Linked DNA regions of Homo sapiens: regions 2 and 3 are each linked to region 1. The links are contacts of gene promoters, found by promoter capture Hi-C in blood cells and fetal thymus (Javierre and others, 2016). All regions are on one chromosome and are shown on one strand. The core of a region is centred on a gene start or on the middle of the fragment in contact, and the rest is flanking DNA. Distances in the headings are between cores, read along the strand shown.

The links. The method cuts DNA at HindIII sites, captures the fragments that hold promoters and counts their contacts. A CHiCAGO score of 5 or more calls a contact.
Region 2: a fragment that was not itself captured here is called in contact with the fragment with the promoter of ZNRF4 in region 1 in 1 of 17 cell types (M0 macrophages); the score reaches 5.2 in M0 macrophages.
Region 3: a contact is called between a fragment that was not itself captured here and the fragment with the promoter of ZNRF4 in region 1, in 4 of 17 cell types (naive CD4 T cells, naive CD8 T cells, total CD8 T cells and 1 more). The highest score is 6.7, in naive CD4 T cells.

Annotation. Positions count from the first base shown.
Region 1 is chr19:5,454,026-5,456,725 of GRCh38, reverse strand. It overlaps ZNRF4 (zinc and ring finger 4), which reads right to left and starts at 1,309. Exons shown (of 1, transcript NM_181710.4): 1 at 1-1,309. The coding sequence starts at 1,234. The HindIII fragment of the contact is 7,810 bases long and covers 1-1,446 here.
Region 2 is chr19:5,112,710-5,115,409 of GRCh38, reverse strand. The region is part of intron 10 of KDM4B (lysine demethylase 4B); the gene reads right to left. Among named protein-coding and RNA genes, the nearest start is that of PTPRS-AS1, 64 kb to the left of the region's middle. RefSeq lists enhancers at 1-287, 288-1,243. The HindIII fragment of the contact is 4,202 bases long and covers 1-2,700 here.
Region 3 is chr19:5,046,793-5,049,578 of GRCh38, reverse strand. KDM4B (lysine demethylase 4B) reads right to left here. Exons shown (of 23, transcript NM_015015.3): 6 at 1,910-2,103. Among named protein-coding and RNA genes, the nearest start is that of KDM4B, 79 kb to the right of the region's middle. RefSeq lists enhancers at 66-668, 2,162-2,786. The HindIII fragment of the contact is 3,979 bases long and covers 1-2,786 here.

The sequences.
Region 1 (2,700 bases), core at 60-2,559:
GGGACGTGGTGCTGCAGTGGCAGTGGGGACTGGCGCGGCCCAGCAGCTCCAGCCTCCGGGAGCGTAGCTGGACTTGAATGGCCCAGATGGGGGGCCGGTGGCCCGGTAGGGAGGGGTCCTCGTCCCTGAAGCTGTAGGTGGTGGAGTCAAAGCTGTCTTCTGTGGCGGCCACCGACTGTTTGCACACGGGGCAGGAGCGCCGGGGGGCTTGGGAGAACCAGGGGTCAATGCATTTGCAGTGGTAGGTGTGGGAGCAGGGCAGGATCTTGAGTTGGTCGCCCTCCTCATACTCATCCAGGCAGATGGCACACAGGTCGTTGTGCCACGTGAAGGTGCGGACCTGGGCCTTCTGGCAGGTAGACGTCTTCACCGGCCGTCTGTGGCTGCAGCAGGCCTGGGCCCAGAGCCACAGGTGGTTCAGGACAAAGAAGGCTGATACGACCAGGGCCAGGGTACAGCCCAGCACCCAGGACACGGTCAGCACGGGGTGACAGCCCAGGTCGTGGCACGGTGGGTCGTCGGGCAGGAGCAGCGCGTGGGCCGACTTGTTGCAGCCCAGGATGACCCGCAGGTCCTGCGAGGCGGCCTCGCTCACGAACACTGAGGGGATGGCGATCTGGCCCCTCAAGTCCTCGTAGACGTGGGTCATGCTCACGAGGTCGTCGGAGTGGACGTTGTGCACGATGGCCGCCTCGAAGCCGGCGCGCTGGGCGTTCAGCACCTTGAGGTCGAAGGTGCAGTCGTAGCGGCGGATCAGCACGATGGCGCCCAGAGAGCGGTTGCCCAGTCGCGGGGCCTCGATGGGATGGCACGCGTTGGCTGGCTTGACCTCCATCAGGTAGCCCCGTATGCCCTCGGGGGCCAGGGGGACGCCGAACAGCGCCGGCAGATCCGCAAAGTCCACCGAGCTCGAGTTGTCTTCCAGCACGGCCCGTACCACTGCCTGCGCGGGCACCTGGAGCAGCGACAAGACCAGCAAGGCTTTGACTGCCACGAGGGCTCGGCCCGGCCGTGGCCACCCCATGGTCACCCGCTTCGCTGTCTGTGTGCTGCTAGGTCCCACTGGAGGCGGCAGGCATGAGGCCTTTGGGCATCTCCGGGGTCTCCCAGGGGGCCTGTGGCCAGGACGCGAGGGCAGTTGAGTTGGAATGACCGCGTGGCTCAGAGGCAGTGACGCGGCCACTGGGACCCTGCTGGCTCTAGGCATTAAGTGCTCCGGACGGCAGAGCGGCATGCGTCGTGTCTTTGAAGGCCGGTCTCAGGAGGTGCTGGCGCAGGTGGCCTTTCTGGCAGATGACATGGAGACCAGGAGTCACCAGGGTTCTAGATGCCCCCAGCTTCTGTGACATCGCCCTGCTACATTCTGTCCCAGGAGCTGCCAGCTGCCTGGGCCTGTGGCCAATGGATCATTCCTAGGTCTGTGATTTGCCGGTACCCGGGCAAGCTTTGAGATAACTTCTTGAAGGCTCAGGGTATCTTTGGACCCAAGGAGGCCCAGGGATGCTTCAAAAGGGCTGCCGGCCCCCAGCAGTGCAGATTCAGCCCTCACTGTGCGAAGACGCTACCAGCATCAGCTTCTGGAGGTTCCTAGCAACACACTGTAGAAGGTTCAATGTTACCCTTGTCTGAGACTCCAAGAGTGACCCAGACTTGTTCAAGCCACGCCCCCCTACAATGAGATCAGTGCTTAAAACCCAAATTCCTGACCCCCTGTCACCATCCCTCACTCTGCTCCAGCCACACAGATCTCCTTGCTGTTCCTCCAACACACCAGGCAGGATCCTGCCCCAGGGCCTTTGCATGGGCTGGGCCTCCTGCCTGGAAAGCCCTTTCTCTCCGTAGCTGGCTCTTTTATCCGGACTCAGGTCTGAGTCCATATATCCTCAGAGCCCTCCTGGACTTGATTTGGAGGGAGAGTCAAGTGCCAGGGTCAGGGTGGGGCTGGTGGGGGTCAGTGGTCCCAAGTCCGCACCGCCAGGTTGGCCTCCAGGCTTGCACCAGCTTCATTCTCTCTCCCTATAGCATTGCCTCTCCAGCTGGGTCTCCAACTGTGCCCCCTGCCTGAGCTTCAGCCCTGGGCATCAGCCTCACCTCCTCCCCAGTCCCCATCCCCCAAATTTCACACCCTCAATCTGTCTGCAGCCCACTCAAGTCGGATTTCTGTCTCTGCCATTCATAAGCTGTATGACATCAGCTAAATTCCTTAGCCTCTCTGGGCCTCAGCTTCCAGACCTGTAACATAGTCTTTCCCATGCTCTAAACTCTCCCATGGCTCCCCATTGCCCTCCAGATAAAGCCCACACTCTTCTCTGTGGCCTACATGCACCCCTGTGGTTGGGCGCCTGCCAATCTCTGAAGCCTGGATGATTTGCAATGTCCCAGAGGCATCTTGCTTTGTTCACCTCTAGAATTTTGCAAATGCTGTTCCCTCTGCCTGGAACAGAATTCTTGCTCCTCAACTTCACTTTGCCAGGCTGACTACTTAGTCTTTAGATTTTCTGTGTTGGCCTAATACCTCTCAGAGCAGCCCTCAGCCAGTGACAGATGGGAGGTGGTAGATAAATGCCCCCACTCCCTCGTCCCTCTTATGGGACAAATCGAAGTATGTTCTACCATATCTCCTAGAGGTCCCCAGTCGAATGAGCTCCATAAGTCAACGAACCCAGTACTGTCTTGTCAATGAGCCCGCTACTGTCTCCT
Region 2 (2,700 bases), core at 187-2,686, 340 kb after region 1:
TTGTCTCTCCTGGCCTTGGGGGTTGGGGGGATGTGAGGCTGGCAGCTGGGCCCCACTGCTGACCCCAGGAAGGCGCCTCCCTTCTGCCCAGAGCCACCCACTGTCTTCTGCTGGTTGCCCCCACATCCCCCCAGCACCCCCAGGGGCTGCCCATGTTTGCCCGCTGTGTCTTTCTGAGGCCCCGTGGTACATTCCCCCTGCAGCCCTCCAGGAGCTGCCCATGTCTGCCCACTGTGTCTTTCTGTGGCCCCATGGTGCAGCCCAGCTGCTCCCTGCTGGCTGTCCTCCTGGTTGCCGGCCCATGGGGTCTCCTGCCCACCCTTCCCTGCTTTTCAAAGCCTGGAGACGTGCTCAGCTGCCACTGCCCCCTCTCCCGTTCTCTGCACTTCACTCTCTGGTGTTTCAGTGGCGTTTCAGGAGAGAGTGGAGATAAATAAGCACTTAGCCTGCCAGGCTTAACTGGACGCCGCTGGGCTCATTCCTATGAGCCAAATGTCGGGACATAGTCCAGATAACTGCACTAATATTTCCAAGGTGGAAGCAGGTGTCCTTTGCAGCTTGTATGGCAGGAGGCGGGGTGGACGGCCTCTGGCCCTGTCACCCAGTAACACAGGGCACCTGCAGCACCCAGAGTGGGACCATCAGCATTCAGTGCCGCGCTGGCTCAGGGCTTCTCACAAGGTGGGGAGGACTGGGAGGCTGGCCCCAGGCTGAGCCCTCAGAGCCGCCCACCCCCGACCCAAAGTGGCCCAGTGCTCCCCACCCCCAAGACTAGACCCTGTGCTGAGGAATTTCACCTTTGAGAAAATGAAGGGCAGCTCTAGGAAAGAGACAGGAGACAGCAAGTGAGTCCCTGAGGCTGCGCACTCCCTGCAGGGGCTGGCAGGTCCCTGTGCTCGTGAGGTTCTGTCCCTGAGGGCTGAGGTCCCTGTTGGTGGGGAGGGCTCAGGAATGCAGCTGGGGTGTGGCAGCCGTGGCAGCCCTGGCAGGAGTCGGGGCCAGAGGCGTGGCGGTGTCCTGCACTGGCGCAGGGGCGACAGGCCAAGGCAGAGCAGGAGGGGACAGGCAGCACCGAGCTCGGAGGGGTAGGGGAGACGAGGCCTGGGCCCAGCCGGGCTCACAGAGCAGCAGTGGGCCAGGGAGGCTGTGGTGAGGCGGGTGCACAGATGTCCTGCAGGGAGCGCGTACCTGCTGGAGCACGTGCACATGGCGCTTCTCGCGTGGAAAGAGTTTGCATGGAGGAGCGTCGCGTGGGTGCCAGAGAGCACTGTGAGGGCTCCGGCTCAGGCAGGGCACCAGAACGCACAGCGCCACCGGGAGTGGGGAGGCTGAGGGCACCCGCCAGGAGCCAGGCTGCAGTTTTAGGCGACCCATCCATCAGGGGGAAGAATACAAACAGCCCCCAACGCTCGCTCAACGAGATTTAGTTCTGGAAGAGACCCATGTAAGGTGGCGAGCAGGGAGTAGGCCGTGTCCTCTGAGCTCAGGCAGCTGTGCCGAACCATCCGCACCCCATGGGGCACCTGGTAAACACATGAGGGCCATCCCACAGCCACGCCGAGGGCAGGGAAGGCTGGACTGCACGGGGGTGAGGGCATGGCGCCCACCCTGATGCCATCCCTTGGTCTAGGGCAGGGGTTCCCACGCGGGGGACTGGGCGATGTCTAGGGACATCTGTGGTTGTCACGACTTGGGGCACTCCTGGCATGGAGTGGGTGGAGGCCAGGGATACTGCTCATTACCCTGCAGGGCCCAGGATGCTCCCCCAACCAGAGAAGGATCCCGCCTGTGTCCACAAGCCCCTTGTCTGGGAGACAGAGCCAGTCCACTGTGTCTCCCGATCCAGCCTGAGCCACAGATGCTCAGACAGGGCTGCCCTGGCCCCAAGATATGCCCTCAGGGAGGGAGCCTGGCTCAGGGGAAAAGGCAGGCCACGTGGAGAGGGCACTGCTCAGGGGGGAACCGACCACCTCCCTGGTGGAGGGAGGGGCAGCTTGGGCTTTGGAACGTGAGTCACCCATCTGCCTCTCCAGAGAAAAGCACCCCCAATGACTTTAAAAAAAAAAAAAAAAAGTGAATCAGCCTTGTTTTACATACTGAAGGCTTTCAAGAAAATTATATCCTTGGGAAGCTGACTTCATTTGTTATTCAGGCTTGCTGCTGGGTGAAGGCAGCCCCCAGGATGGCGGCGCGGGAGAGGGCGGGAGGGGGCTCCTGGGAGGAGCAGGTCGTGACTAGAAGTGAGGGGGTGGCCGGGGCAGGGAGGCCAGGCCAGGCCACGCAAGGGCTGGTTCTGGGGGGTCCACTTCCTGCGTGCAAAGAAGGTTCCAAGCAGCGGTGAGCGCAGCGGCTTCCGCATCTCCTCCTGGCAGGCAATTTAGACGGCCTCTAGTCCCATTCCACTCCTGGAACGTGGTGCCGGTTTATTGGCAATCCACTCTGTTGACCAATTAGCCTGAGCCACAATCAATTAACCATTATGCAAATAGCACGTCTGGCTGGGCCTGGGAGCTGGGGTGCACGAGCTCTGTGCTGCGGGGGCCGCCTGGAGTAGCCTCACCAGGAGGCAGCTCTTCATGAGGAGCACACAGGAGGCAGGAAATCAAAAGGACAGAACAAGAGCAGAAGAGACAGATTCACCTTGGCAGGGCTGTCAGGAGGGGCTGTGAAAACACTCGGGGCAGAGGGAACATTCTCCGA
Region 3 (2,786 bases), core at 125-2,624, 410 kb after region 1:
CTCTGGGGGGTTGAGGGCATGCCCTGCAGCTAGAGCCTACACTGTGGCTCCTCTCAGGCCCCTCATGCCAGGCCCCACCCCTGCCATCCCCACCCCTTCCTGGGCAAAAACCAAGACCAAGGTCAGGGCGCTTCCGGAATTCCCTTCCCGAAAGAACTGTTGCCTACTCAACGCTGCCCCGCCCCAGCTGTCTCCCCTGAGCCATCTCCCACGACGGGTCATGGGGAAGGGTAGACATGGGAGTGGCAGCTGGACGCCTGCGGCACCAGGCGAAGCAGAGGAGGGGTGCAGTGAGGGGCATTCGGGGAGAGGTGCGGGATGCCCTCAGAGGCTGCGTCCTGGATGAACCAGCTCAGGAGAGGCCCTCGGCTCCTGGCGCATCCCTGTCAGTCCCTCCGACGGCCTGTGGCCGGGCCCCACTGCCGCCTCCAGGGAGCCACTGTCGCCTCCTCCCGCAGAGGCCCCTCTGACCTAGCAGCAGGCACCCCCGGCCCTGGCATCTGACCCATAGCAGCCCCAGCCCCAGGGTCTCCCCCAGCCCAGGCTCCCACGACAGCCAGCAACCCCCGGGGCCCCTCACAGGAGACCGAGCTGCTGGCACTGCAGTCCTTGGCACTGAAGTCCTCACGTCTGACTCACTGGCTGGTCCCCCACCTCCCATGTCCCTGACCCCCCTGCTTCTGTCTGGCTGGGCCTCCTTGCCGGCTGCTCGCCACTTCCCGCCCCACAGGGGCTCTCTGCACAGGGCAGACGGTCCCTATGGAGGCACAAACCCGGTCACACCATGGGCGTCCCGCTGCCCACGCACCCCTGGGAGGCCACGCTTTGCCCCAAGTCACACGGGGTCCTCTACAGGGCCTTTCCCTTGGGCTCCATCTGCGCTTCGGACGCAGGTGAGGATGCGCACAGCTCGCCCCTTCCTGCTCATTGTGCTTTTTTTTAACGAAGAGGTACAGCATTCTCCCCCGCCCCCCCCTCTCCCCGCTTACAACTCCAACCCAGGGAAGGGCCAGGCAAGGCGGAGCTCCCACGCCCTCCAGGCAAAGGCTCCGTCCTCCTCCAGCGCGAGGACGGCCTGGGAAGATTCCAGGCATGAGCGCGGCCCCGGGAAGGGCGGGAGCGCCACCTAGCGGCCCTTGGAGGACAGTGCAGGGCAGCCCCGCGGAGCACCCAGCAGGTTCCGCAGTCACAAGCAGAGCCCGGTGACACAGGGGCACACACACGCATGCATACTCACACTCACTCACGTGCGCACTCACATGCGCGCGCACACGTGCACATTCACACACACCCCCACACGGCCTCGCTGCGACGTGCACAGGGAGCCAGGAGAAGGTCCTGGAACTCAGCCCGCCACAGCAGCGCCCACGCTGCACCCGGCACCTCCCGGGCAGGGGCAGGTCCACCACACTGCACACAGGCCTGCAGCGCCACGCCCTGCCCTCCTAACTGTAGGGCCTGGCCCAGACGTGCCAGGGCGGAGACTGCGAGGGAGCGGCTGCAGGGTCATCCTGGCCAGGCCCCTCTGGGCAGCATGGACAGTGTCCCTTCACCAGGAACGTCTCCACTTGGCTGTGAGGCAGCACAGCCTGGGCAGCTCAGGAGGCTCAAGACCACGCTCCTGGCCATGGGGACACCTGGGGCCGCTCACAGCTCAATGGGGGGCACTCCGGGGTACAAAGCGCAAGCTCTAGGGGCCTGGGAGCTTCGGCTCTGGGGGTGCACATCCCCCACCCCAAAGCTGGTGGGTGACCCCAGGCGGTCCGGAAGATCTCCAGCCGTCATAGGCCGACCTTTGCGGCCTCACCTGGTGGGGCCCCTGCCACGGCGCCCAGCCGTGTACCCGGGATTGACTCCCTCCCGAGGGGCTCTCGGTCCGGCCGGCGGCAGGGCCAGTGCAGACACTCACCAGGACTTAGGCTCCCCAAAGTGCAGGTAGTTGATGCTGTACAGGTCCATGTCCTCGGTGTGCCAGGCGAAGGTGGTCTTCCACATGCCGAAGTACAGGTAGGGCGTGTTCACGCCCTCGATGATGGTGCCGCACTCGCGCTCCACCATGTCCAGGATGGTCCGGAGGCTCCCGATGTTCCACTGGGCCACGTCCTGTGGGGCGGCAGAGCAGCGTCGGCAACCGCCCGGCCACCCCCAGAACCTGCGAGCCCTGGGGTGCAGGCTAATTCTCCCCAGAGTCCCAGGGGTCGCTGCCCATCCTCCTCCACCCCAGTATCTGCGGCCCCCCCAGGGGCCGGTCATACCCTGCAGACCAGGGGCTGGTCTTAACCTGTGTGAGATTCTTGCCCAGGCTGGAGTGCAGTGGCAGAATCATAGCTCACTGCAGCCTCAACCTCCCAGGCTCAGGTAATCCTCCAGCCTCAGTCTCCTGAGTACCTGGGACTATAGGCTATAGGCGTGAGAAACCACACCTGGCTAATTTTTACTTTTTTCTGTGTAGAGATGAAGTCTCACTCTGTTGCCCAGGCTGGTCTCGAACTCCTGGGCTCAATGGTCCCTCCCACTTTGGCCCCTCCAAGCGCTGGGGCTGCAGGCATGAGCCGCCATACCCAGCCCAGACACCTTTTCTGAAGGGCTCACCGCCAGCTTGGCCCTTCCAGGAAGGGCCCCATCGCACATGCCAGCGTGCACCAGGCAGGCAGGGCCTGTCAGATTCCACTGAGCTGCGTGCTTCCTGCTGGGTGGAGGCCTTGTTGTGAAGCCTGCAGTTTGGGAGTGCATAATTAACACGCCTCTAAGTCAATGACACGGAAGGAGAAAAACAGTCACCACTT